2 separate regions of the Homo sapiens genome follow, and region 1 is linked to region 2. Evidence: promoter capture Hi-C in 16 types of primary human blood cells and fetal thymus (Javierre and others, 2016). All regions are on one chromosome and are shown on one strand. The core of a region is centred on a gene start or on the middle of the fragment in contact, and the rest is flanking DNA. Distances in the headings are between cores, read along the strand shown. Region 1 has its middle 140 kb from the start of LINC00470. Region 2 holds the start of ADCYAP1 (adenylate cyclase activating polypeptide 1).

Evidence for each region. Contacts are between HindIII fragments. The CHiCAGO score rates a contact against its expected background, and 5 or more counts as called.
Region 1: a contact is called between a fragment that was not itself captured here and the fragment with the promoter of ADCYAP1 in region 2, in 1 of 17 cell types (endothelial precursors). The highest score is 5.4, in endothelial precursors.

Annotation. Positions count from the first base shown.
Region 1 is chr18:1,494,891-1,501,244 of GRCh38, forward strand. No RefSeq gene overlaps it. Among named protein-coding and RNA genes, the nearest start is that of LINC00470, 140 kb to the left of the region's middle. The HindIII fragment of the contact is 587 bases long and covers 1,138-1,724 here.
Region 2 is chr18:901,666-907,981 of GRCh38, forward strand. It overlaps ADCYAP1 (adenylate cyclase activating polypeptide 1), which reads left to right and starts at 3,206. Exons shown (of 5, transcript NM_001099733.2): 1 at 3,206-3,395; 2 at 3,721-3,831; 3 at 5,994-6,125. The coding sequence starts at 3,722. LOC124904340 (a long non-coding RNA gene) reads right to left here and starts at 4,987. Exons shown (of 2, transcript XR_007066435.1): 1 at 3,417-4,987; 2 at 1,099-2,683. RefSeq lists an enhancer at 6,051-6,316. The HindIII fragment of the contact is 10,218 bases long and covers 1,109-6,316 here.

The DNA.
Region 1 (6,354 bases), core at 181-2,680, 590 kb after region 2:
CTGGTCTCAAACTCCTGACCTTAGGTGATCTGCCCACCTCAGCCTCCCTCCCAAAGTGCTGGGATTACAGGTGCGAGCCAGTGGGCCTGGCTTCTTTGCCTTTTTTTTTTTTTTTTTAACTATTGGTAGTTTAAAGACTGTTTTATCTGATACAAAAATAGTTACCCCTGCTCTTTTGTGTTTTCTATTGCATAATAGATCTTTCTCCATCCCTCTCCTTTGAGCCTGTGGGTGTAATTAGGCATCAGATGAGTCTTTGAAGGCATCAGAAAGTTGGGTCTTACTTTTTTTTAGTCAATTTGCCACTCTATGTCTTTTAAGTGAGGTATTTAGAGTGTTTACTTTCAAGGTTAATATTAGTATGTGAGGTTTTGTTCCCGTCTTAGTGTCATTAGCGAGTTGCTTTCTAGTCTCAATTGTCTAATTACTTCATAGATTCTGTGAACTTTGTACTTATGTGTGCTTTTATGGTAGTAAGTATCATTCTTTTGTTTACATGTTCAGAAATTCTTTGAGCATTTCTTCTATGACTGCTCTGTTGAAGAATTACTTTGGTGTTTACTTGTCTGGGAAAGACTTTATTTTTCTTTTATGAAGCTTAGTGTGATAGGATATAACATTTTTGGCTGGCAGATTTTTTTTCTTCAGAATGGCTAAAAATAGGCCTCTATCGCCTGTTAATTGTAAGGTTTCCACTGAGAAGTCCGCTGTCAGTCTGATGGAATTTCCCTTCTAGGTAATTTGACCCTTTTTTCTAACTGCCTTTAAGATTTTTTTCTTTTGCATTGACTTTGGTTAATCTGATGACTATATTCCTTGGGGACAGTCATGTTGTATAGTATTTTGCATGTGTTCTCAATTTTTTTGTATCAGAATGTTGACTTCTCTAGCATGATTAGGGAGATTTTCCTGAATTGTTTCTCTTAATATGTTTTACAAGTTGCTTACTTTTTCTTCTTCTCTCTCAGGAATGCCAATAAGCTGGAGATTTTGTTGTTCTTATATAATCCCATATTCTTAAAGGCCTTGTTCGGTTTAAAAATCCTTTTCCCTTTATTTTTGTCTGATTGGGTTAATTCAAATGTCTGGTCTTAAGGTTATGAAATTTTTCTTCTGCTTGGCCTAGGCTACTGTTAAAGCTTCCAACTTATTTTAAAATCTCTTTAGCAACTTTTTCAGTTCCAGAAGTTCTATATGGTTTTTTCTTAAAATAGCTATCTTGTGTTTCATGTCCTGAACCGTTTTTATGGTTTATTTGTATTGGATTCCAACTTTCTCTTTGATCTCATTTAGTTTCCTTGAAACCTGTATTTTGAATTCTTCATCTGTCATTTCAGAATTTTCAGCTTGGTTAGTATCCAATGCTGGAGAGCTGTGCCATCCTTTAGAGGTGTCAAGACACTCTGGCTTTTTGTACTGCCAGATTTCTGGTAGTGATTCCTTCTCATCTTAGAGAGGTGCCACTTGTAATTTTTTGAATTCGCTATCATTTGGATAGGACTTTTTCGTGTTTTTATATTTCCCTTGAGTGTATGACTGTGATATATGTGTATGATCATTTTGTTTTGTTTCTGTGTGCGTTCAGGGAGCCAAGGCTCTTTATGGGTTCCATGGTTGTGGATAGCATCTGCAGCTTTCTTAGTCGCTGCTTGTTGCAGCGATGTATTAAGTCTTCGAGCTGACACACTATCCCCTGCAAGGCTGAGGGTGTGGAGATCTCATGAAGCTTGTCTCCGGGACCAGCGCTAAGCCCTTCTGGCAGCAATTTTTGTTTTGTTCTGTTTGATGGTGCACTTCAGGCTGCAATTAAGTAGTAGCCCTTAAAAGTAAGAGCAGGCTTGCCCTCAGGCGGGCTGATGAGCTGTGAAAGAACTTGTTCTGAGAGAGGGTAGAGGGAAGAGATCATGTTAGGATGCACCAAGGTCTTGAAGGAAGGAGTGAGAGGTGATGCACAGCTCCTCATCCTGAGCTGGCAGGAACTGATCTGCTCCCCTATCGTGCCCTTGTCACAGGGCTCATGACCTTCAGCAGTTCATAAACACTTTGTCCTTTGGTTCTTGGTTTCAGTGTGGCTGTGGGCCAGAGATACAGTCTTCTCATGGCTACCACCAAAATGGGCACTTAGGGCATAGCCTCTTTCCCAGTTCGGAGCAGGCAATTCTGCAGCTTGTCTATTCTCTGTTGCTGGGATGCTGCCACTCTGTTTAGGGAGAGGTATTTGCCATCCAGCTTTTGTGTACAGTCAAGTGGCTGGGCTCACTTTCAGTATAGGTGGGGCCATTGCAAAAATTGCAAATATGCTTCCTCCAAAGAAACACTGCTGTGTTCACAATAGTGGATGAGTGAGCAGAAGATGACCCCCTCTACATGTTTCTTCCCAGGCATTAGTGCTGCCTCCTTCAGTGATTGCCGCGGCACCCATATTTCCTTTGTCCCAAGGAGTTTTTGGCTGGCTGTGCTCCCCCCTCCCTTAGAGATGACCCATGCCAAGAGTTATACTTACTGGGGTCCCAACACCTCCTCAGGGACCCATTTCCTTTACTTGTTAAAGTCGGAGTAGGTCTGTGGGGTATGTTTATGGGGAACCTGGTGGTGTGCTGACACATGGGAAGAGAATTTCAGGGCAAAGCAGTGGCCCACAACCAGTATGGTGGCTGCTGTCTCAGTTTGGGTCTGAGGGAAGTGCGGGCACACCTGCATGAGGTGGCCACCCAGTTCTCTGTTCTTGGGTAGTCTCCAAATCACCACTGATAGAATTGCCCTGGGTCACAAGGGCAGAGGGTTTCCAGATTTTGGTAGTCAGCAGATCGTCACAGGGGTGAGGGGAGCAGAGATGCACTTCCACCTACTTTTCCCAGAGGGCTCTGAGTTCCTTGGGGGCTGATCTTTGCCAGACTCTTGCTGCTTTCCTTTTCTGTACCCTGGCTTCTTACCATGGACACTCTGACAGGTCCTGGCTCTCTTTTCTCAGTTTTCCATTTGGAACTTGTGTATTTGCTGGTAATTCTGATCTTCTTTCTGAGGAGACCTGGCATCCAATGTCCATAGCCAGCCATTTTGAAATAAAAAAACATAGAATTTTAATTCACAATATTTTCATTCAGAGCAGTTGGAAATTAGGTGTGTTCTGTTTCCAAGGATGGGTCTAGTCTGTGTGGAGGAGAAAAGGTTGTATTACGCTTTGCTAGTTTACTTCAAAAAGTCACTGTTGAATTCTTTACACTTTGTGTAACTTTTGGCTTTGTAGGTTAGAAATGTTTCAATATGATTTATTAAATTTTTATTGTATTGGATAGTAAGTTAAGAGCAAAAGCTTCAAATCAATACTTTCTTCATTGATTTTGTTTGGCTTAAATGATTTATTAAGCTGCAGGCTTAAAGAAACAAATTGAAGAGAAACAAAGGTATGTGTATTAGCCAGAGTTCTCCAGATAGAGAGAGAGAAATTTAGTTACTTAAGGAATTGACTCACTTAATAATTATGGTTCCTGGCAAGTCTGAAAGCTATAAGGCAGACAGGCAGGGTGAAAATTCAGATAACAGTTGATGTTGCAATCTTGAGTTCAAAATTGTTAGGGCCAACAAGCAGAGTTTCTACATTGCAGTCTCGAGGAAGAATTCCTTTTTCTTTGGGGAACCTCAGTCTTTACTCAAGACTTGCAACTGATTAGATGATGCCTGCCCATATTATGGAGAGTAATCTGCTTGCTTAGAGTCAACAAATTTAAATGTCAATTATATATATAAAATACCTTCACAACCACATCTAGACTAGTATTTTACCAGGTAACTGGGGACTACAACCTTGCCAAGTTGAACAATAAATTAATCATCAGAGTCCACTGCTTGTCAACTTGATACCTATACACATTTTTATAAGCCATACTTAATATCCAAATAAAGACAAAAACAAAGTATCATTTCTGCCAAACATGATACTACTATCCTATATACAACTGGAAATGCACTTACCCTTTCCCCAGAAGAGGATGCAAAATCCTTCAGTAATGTTTACTTTTCTCCTTGATATTCTGTTACTTATATACTATGATGAAAAGTTCACAATGCTTAAAATACTGTGGTATAAAGTTAATTTATCTCATGTTACATGACAAAGAAATAAGAGAGAAGAAAACAAGAACACTTTCTATGTACAAATACGTATATGCAGACATATTCATAATAAGGATATGTTATAATAATTACAGTCTATTTCTGCGATGGGTCATGTGGTCATAGCTGTATTTATAACTACCTTCTTTCACTATCTATTCCATATTTCCTTTACCCTCAGCAAGGACCTCAGCAGGTCTTGGTTTTGTACCTGGTAGAGTGACTCAAACCTTCAGTACTGAAGACTCTGGGCCATTAGCAGTCCTTCCAGAATTGGGTTGTTACTGTTTGCCATGAACTTTCACCACAGGGCATACTAGTACTGGGAGATTGTGGGGCTGTTAGGGTTGTGAACCTCCTTAAAAATGTGTCAGCTACAGGAAGTGCTGAGATAATGGTAGCCCAGGCAGGAATTGGCTCTCAAACCTTCAGAGCATTGTAGGAAACTTTTGATTTCAATAATTGTTAGATGCCACCTAGAGGTCATATTTGTTCCTCAACTTATGTTTAAATTGTGATAGGGTAAAACAATTCAAACACATCATAAAGAATATTGTTACTTCAATAAATATTTTTGCTAACTGTATTTATGATCATGTTTTAAAAATATACAAGGACATATTATATTCTCTGATTTAAAATATTCAGTTGTTATATAGAATTCAAAATAAGAAATGCAACATGGCTATAAAAATATAAAATATAATGTAAATGTAGTTGAGGTGGTATTTTGCATATACTGGAAACTAACAATAATCGAGAGAGCTGGATTGAATACCTATGAAAAAATGGGTGCAGATCGGAAGAAAATCTGATAGACCAACTAGATGTTTACTGCATTTTGCAATCTCTATCCTATCCATTCACTTTTATGAGGTGTTTTGCATGTGTGACTTTTTAATAGGGCACAGTCTTATAAAATAGTCTCAATATATTTACCATAGGAAGGTTTTTGAGCTGTTATACCCCAGGGATCTTGATTTTGCAGAAATTATACCTGCCTTTCTGAGGTTAAATGCTGCTAGAACTTCCCCGATCCAACTAGGTTAATGAGATACTTCAGACAGAAGTTCACATACTGGAAAAAGCTTTGAGGTCCCTGAGGAGGAGAATTTCTCCCAAGGGATGCGAGACCCTTTGCTGATAAACCTGAGTAAGAGAAGGGCACCGGAGTTCACATGGAGGGCTGCATCAGGTGGCTGAACATTATTTGGCTGAGGATGCAAGTTTCTCCTGCTTCTGCCATCTTGGTGGGGTGGCCAACCTATGGAAGCATGGGCTAAATACATTCAGAATTATAAACTTGAAACAAAAATGTGAGGCATCACTGCAGCTCTGCAGTGATCTTGACTAGCCACAGGATCATGACAAAAAATGGACCGTCTCCTTCGAACCATAAAAGATGATTTACAGGCCAGGCACAGTAGCTCATGCCTATAATCCTAGCATTTTGGGAGGCTGAAGTGGGTGGATCACTTGAGACTAGGAGTTCAAGACCAGCATGGCCAATATGGCGAAATTCTGTCTCTACTAAAAATACAAAAATTAGCCAGGCATGGTCACAAGCACTTGTAATCCCAGCTACTTGGGAGGCTGAGGCAGGAGAATTGATTGAACTCTGTAGGTGGAGATTGCAGTAAGCTGAGATCATACAACTACAGTCCAGTCTGGGTGACAGAGTGAGAATTTTTTTTTCTAAAAAAGAGATAATTTACAGTAATAACCCTGTATCACTATTACATAACACTAGCTTTCTCTCCCTTTGGCTAGCATTTGGAAGCAGAACTAACACTTTGGGAATGTTTAGATGTTGAAGGATCTTAGTTCAGAACACGCTGGTTCTCATGAGGGAGATGCTCAATTATGTCTCCGTGTCTCTTTTGACCACTTATTGTTAAATACTTTTGCCTTGTTGCTGGCTGTGTTTCAATTATTGGTAAACCCTATTTCCTGGGTTTACCTTTTGTAAGGAATCCAATGCTTACTTCTGGGCACAGAAGGTAGGGTCAGAGTGAGGCATTCCAAAATCCTAGGTGGAGCCTAGGATGTGATACTTTCTTCTCAGGAGCTATGCCATGGGAATACTATTTTGGGCAGCATCTTATAAATACATTGAATTTGGAGGCCAGGAAACTTGGGACTAGTCTGATGACAGAAGCTGAAAAGACAAGTTTCAATAAGGAGGGTAATGGAGAGGAGTGGGGACAGGGAAGGTGTGCTAATATTTTACTGGGTACCTAC
Region 2 (6,316 bases), core at 1,956-4,455:
GGGCTTTGGGCTGACAAGTTCCCTCTTCCTTGCAGCTCCCTCAAAGTCCCAGACACAAAGGCCTCCAGGATGCTCTGTTAATGCTTGACTGGAGCCTTCCAAGATTAGAATCAAAGGGGCATTTGGGGGTAGTTTTGGTCTTTGAGACTTCAGTCATCCCATATTCCCTCTACCCAATAGAAAGCAGAAGGGGCCTATACTCTCATCTAGCAGCTTCTAGTTCCTCCTATCTATTGGCCTTTTCCCTTGGCCCAGGGCCAAGGCCAGATTTTCATGAATAGGAAAGCTCTCCTGCAGAGAGATGTCAAACATGCCCAGCTAGACAATGGCCATGAGCAACAAAAGATCTGTGGGTGATCCTGTAGGAGTTTGATTCCCCCAGGCTGCTGTGGGCAGGGCTGTGTGGGTCTTTAGATTGTGTTGAGCAATTGGTGGGTCTAGGAAGCTTGATTTTCTGGAGTTCAGTGACCAAGAATCTCAAGTTCTCTGTTTAGTCTTTCACTCTCGTGAATGGGTTCAGGTCTGAAGGCCTGTAATTTTTGGGTGCTGAGCCCCGAGTTCTGAGCTGAGAGTATCTAAGCTGAGAAGAGCACGGGGTCGCAGCCTTGGTAAGTCAGAGGCACAGTTCAGCCTCTGTTGGCCCTTGGAGCCAGCAGTTAGTCGTCCTCCCCAGATAGTTAATCGTGTTTGTGGTTTTCCCCCTTTAATGGGCCGTGAAGTCAGCAAACTCCCCACATGGTGGCTCCCTTTACTAAAGTTGAGTAGTGAATTGTACAAGGAGTCTTGGAAATTTTCAAATATTTCTCCAGATTGAACTCAACTCAGAATTCGTGTGGGAGGAAAGAGTAAGGATTTTAATGGGGTTCACCTTTGACGTGAAGCAAGGCGGAAGACAGGAAAGCCACAGTGGGGAATAGCTTTGGGCGCTTTAGTAAGAAAGACATCTCTGCTTGATTATCTGGTAGTGTTCACCGCAGGCTCTTTGTGTGCGAGCTTGCTGCAGAGGCAGAGCTGAACATGGAAAACACGCATGTAAACAGTCCAACATAAATCAGTGAGCATATGTATCAGAGAAAAAGAGACATATTCCCATGTAGATGTGGTTTGAAGCTTTATTGAAGGCAGACAATCTGAAGCACGGCCAGGAATAAACTAAGAGGAAGCAGACAGTTTTCGGTCATTCATGGCCAGGAATAAACAAAACTTAGTTTTTTTTTTTAAGAAGGAGGAAGTATTAAATCTCAAATAAGAGCAGGAACAGCATTTAGAAGGAGAAATATAATATCTTGGAAAAAGCATGCAGAACTAATATAGCTTATTTAAATGTGAGATCCAAATCGTAGTAACAGGAAACCCTCCCACTAAACTGGAATTTCCCCTAATTTTTGTGTAAGATCCAAATAATTAAAATGCACTCTAATGGTTATTGATGGCTCTATTTTCTTTCTTTCTTTCTTCTTCTTCTTTTTTTTTTTTTTAAAGAAATAGACCTGAGTTCTCTTACTGGAGTAGAAATATATGAACCTTCTTCAATTACCCAGGAAATTGGAAGCCTCTGGGTGGATATGGTCTTCCCTTATTGCTTTCCTCTTCCCACATCATTTTCAGTTAAAAAAATTAACTGTTTCCAGCAGAGGGATTCCTGTTAGAAACCTTCATCAGGTGAACTTGTACTGGGAACCCTCATGCTTTCCCAGTCTGTCTGTGTCTCCCAAACAGAGCTGAAGTTGTAAACAAAGTGGAAAAACATATTTCTCGCCCCCAAATTCTTAAAATTTCACTTCTTGTGGAAAACACAATTTCACAACATCAATTTTTAAAATCTGTAAGAGCCACAGAAGGTGTGAAAGTAGCCAAACAGCCGGTCTAGAAATCCAAAAGCCAGGACTAACGGGGGACAGAATGCTTTTTCCTCAAATCCAGGCAGGGATGGGGAGCATTCTCAGCATTAGGGCATTTATGGACGCTACAAGAGGGAAAGGATGTATCTGAACGGTGGGGGTGATTTAGGCGATGAATCGCCACGTTAATAGCACTACTGCCAAATCTTCAAATTTAGAGGCTCTGGTGAAAAATTAAACCGGTGGCAATTTTCAACGTTTGTAGCATCTGTTACCCTACACTTCAGCACCCGGAGTCTGGACAGCTCCGCAGGCCGCGCTCCGGAGGCAGCATGAGCTCTCATCAATCTACTCATAGCCCTACTGTCAACGGCAGCCAGACTCAGGAGAGATTTACTGAAAATCCTCCAAGACTTCCCTTTAAAAACAAAACGACTTCCACATTTAATGGTCTATCTGAAAGAACATACGCAAGAAATTAGGAGATCTAAATTAAATTTATTAATAGGAGAGCTTGATGATGCTTAATTCCAGAGACCAGAGCTCTGATTGGTGAGGCTTGATGAAAAAGTAAAGAGAAATCGTAATTATATAGTTAAAAACATAACTTTTGTCATCCTCAAAATTCTAAAAATTCTTTACCTGTCCTTGAGAAACGGGTGAAATTGAAAACCATCAAAACAATTGGACTTCTTAAAAATTGGATTGTATGAGTGAAAGGTGTTTATGAGAAGTCGATGACTCCGGATCTTATCATCCAAGAGGACAGCACAGAATAGTTAATATGTTCCTTGAGGGACTAGGATGCTGACGTCTTTTTCTGATACCCGATCATTACGTGACTGAGAAAAAAAAAAAGGAAGTCATTTCATGAATAAAAATCGGAGCGCAACAGTGCAACAAAATATTCTGTACTTAAAGGCAACAGGCAGGCAGATGTTGACAAAGAGGGCTCTCCAAAAACCATGTTCGGATAGATTTTTGCGAACTGCACAGATAAATAGGAGCAGAAGGCCGGTCACCTCTGTAACCAGCGGTAGCAGCAGCAGAAGCCGCAGCTTCAGAGGCAGCCGGAGAGACCTCGGAGCAGAGAAGGCGCCGCCGACCCTCGCGGCTGCCTGGCCCGCGGCTCCTACAAAGGCGGGCTAGCCGCCCGCCCTCTCCCTTGCCTTCCTCCCCTTCTTTTCTGACTTTCCCTCTTTCCCTTAATCGCCTGCTTCTTCCTCCGGGTGGACTTACGGCCACCTTGCTCCTCCGCGCTTCACCTCATCGCCCCCTCTTTCTTTCTTCTGCCTCTCTCTCTGCGCCCCCTTCTCTCCGTGTCACGCTCCCTCCTGGTTCTGCGCGTCTACAAACTTTTGAGCAGAACACGAGCCTCGGCAAACGAGTCCCGCAGCTCCTCCTGCTGCTCCCGCTGGTTCCTGCGGCTTCTGCTCAGACACCAACGCCAGACGGCGATGCCTCTCGGGTGGTGACTCCAGCGCAGGAACTTGAAGAAGCGCTTTGCCCGCCGTCCTACCTGGCAGCTCTCCTGGCAGCGGGAGGAGTTGAAGGGTAAGGGAGGGAAAATCTTACCAAAGCGACCGGCTCACTCGACTGCTGATTCTTTCGCTTGGCATCGCGTCAGGGGAGTTAGCTTTCCTTCAGCCGGGTCTGGCTAGTTATTGGGCGCCGGGTAGATGCATATATATATATTTTTTTCTAACTATAGCAAGCAAGAAGTGGCAGGGCGCGCACCGGCTGTCGCCAAGTGCTGTTCAACTCAGGGAGCCGGGGCTTCGCTCCGTCCCTCCCCCGGCTTCCAGAGCTTTTTGGGGTTGGAGGGTGGGAGGCCAGGGGCGTTCTCACAGCTGTGTGTCCTCTTTCCCATCCTGCGCAGAATGACCATGTGTAGCGGAGCGAGGCTGGCCCTGCTGGTCTATGGGATAATCATGCACAGCAGCGTCTACAGCTCACCTGCCGCCGCCGGACTCCGGTTCCCCGGGATCAGGTAGGTGCTGGCTGCCTGGCCCAAGCAGGAGCTGGGGCTTCCCAGGCACAGACGCTTCCTCACGGTCTCCTTCCTGCAGTCCTTTGGGTCCAGACTACTAGCATCGCCCTCTGCGCCCCCGGTGCGCCTCCGCCAGCCTCGGCTGGACAGCGGGTCCCCATTCTAGCCGAGGGTCTGGCAGGCTCCGCGACTGCTCGGACGCCTCCCCCAGCCCTAGGCAGCTCAGGGTCCCGGGTAGAGCCAGTGAGCTTCTGGCCGCTGGAGAACCCCCCCTCCCCCAACCCGGCCCACAGGATGGGGGCAGGGCACGGCCCCTAGCTTGGTTTCTTTTACCTATTCTTGGGACGAGTTAGGAGAACTTCAGCTCTGGAGCCTGGCCGGGGGTTGAGCGTGAAGCTCCCTCGGACTTTGCTTTGTTACTGCTTGTTCTGGACTATCCGGGTGGGGTCTCTCTCTCTCCTCCACCCTTTCTTTTCATTTCATTCCAATTCTTTCCCCTGAAGAGCTTTCTTTCAAGTGATCCGTGTTCCAACTGCATTTTGAATCCCAGGCTGTCTTGGGGGGCGTGCGGTGGGGAGGGTGTTGGCCCGGTGTGATTGAGGAAAAGCGACTTAAGAGAGGGAAGAACAAGGACGAGACTGCGAAGGAGGGGGAAAAACAGGCGCAAAGGAGGAGGAAGGGAAAGCCAGCAGGCAGGCAGGACCGGGAGAGCAGCCCTGCCTGGCCCGGGATGGAGGAACCTTGGCTTTTTTCTTAACCCCGGGTTTCTAACCGGCAGGCGCGGCCCAGGTTCCCGGAGGCAGCCCCAGAGTCGCGGACCGATGTGCCAGGCTGTGGATGAGCCCTGGGTAGGGGAGGGTTCGTACCAGCGGCGCCTGGGGCAGCGAGGAGCGCGCGTTCTGCCTGCGAAGCTGCCTTCTCCGAGCCCCGCCCAGGAACATTAGCTCTGGGGGGCCGCTGATCATTGATTTGGACGGAGAGATGGGTTCTGGGTTCTGTATTAGGATTCCAGCATCTGGGCTCGAGGCAGGGCAATATCCAGAAAGACCCCAGGGTTCGGGGTACCCGGGCCAGGGCTGAGGCGCATCGCCGAGCAAAGGCTGGGTGCGAGGCGTGCGGAATGATGCGCTTGCCTTGCCCGGGCCTCTCCAAGGATGGAGAAAAGGCGAGTGAAGCAGCGAAGTACGACTCCAACCCCGCCCAGAGAGTGCTACTAGCGCTGGCTGCACGCCAAGTCTCTCCAGGGGTCCAAAGCGAGAGGGATTTGTTTTAACCCATCTCTACCCGTCCTGTGTCAAGAACGGAGGCTGTAGAGGGCGACTGCGAAGTCGCCAGGCACTCGCTGGATCTCGGTCCCCCTCCTCGTGCTCTGGGGTTGAGATGGGGCACCGCCATCGATAACAGATCAGCGCGAACTATTCGTTTAGTGGCCTTAAAACACCCTGGTTTCACCCTCAGCTATTTTCAAGTTCCCGTGTGCCTGGCACTTTCTCCGTGCGAGAAGCACCGGAGGGTGCGGACGCGCCACAGTCTGAGCCGCCGCCGAACTGGCTAAGTTTAGGGGCATTTATTATTCATGTTCCTGCCAGATCCTCGCCTGCCCAAAATAGAAACCGAGGTTCTCCGTGACCTACATCTGCTCGGAGAAGGGCTCCCCTGGGCTCGGAGGCTGGGGTGGGGGTGGCTGAGGAGTTGGCCCCCGCACGCCCCACGCATCCTCTCCTTTGCTTTCTGGGCCTCCCCATTCGGGTCTTCGCGTGGGTCAGCGCCCGGTCTCCCAGGGCCTTTCTCGTCCCCGCCCGTTGCTGCTTTGGGGAGGCTCGGGAGCCAGGCGGGGAGGGGGGCGGTCCTTTTCCGTAGACAGGTGTGCGCGATCGGCGGAGACGCCTCGGTTTCCCAGCGCTTGTTGAGGCCGTGGCCCGCAGGACGACCCTTTACCCGCGAAGGGGGGGTGGGCGGGCCGCCCGGCGGGGTAGGAGTGGTTGGGTGTCGTTGCCTCCTCCTTACCTCTGCTCCCACCCCCAGTCCTGGGAGAAGAGACAATTCTCAGCGGAGGACTTTTATCACCTGTGAAAATCCGCGCGAGCCCCTTACTTTGGATCCTCGCCGAGCTGGGGAGGAACTTGCACTGACCACACCTTCTGTCCCCGGCCACCCCGCAGGCCAGAGGAAGAGGCGTACGGCGAGGACGGAAACCCGCTGCCAGACTTCGATGGCTCGGAGCCGCCGGGCGCAGGGAGCCCCGCCTCCGCGCCGCGCGCCGCCGCCGCCTGGTACCGCCCGGCCGGGAGAAGGTGAGATTCGCGCGGCCTCGCGCACACCCGCGGCTGGGAGCTCGGGACTGCGGTGACGGGAGGGGCAGTGTGGTGACCCACCCAGGATTTTTTTTTTTTTCCCGTGAAAGTCCTCAAGCCTGTCCTCTCCCTGGCCCGATCCTATTGCAGCGACAGAAAATCAGCAGCGGGCGGGTCTGTGTGGACCTGAG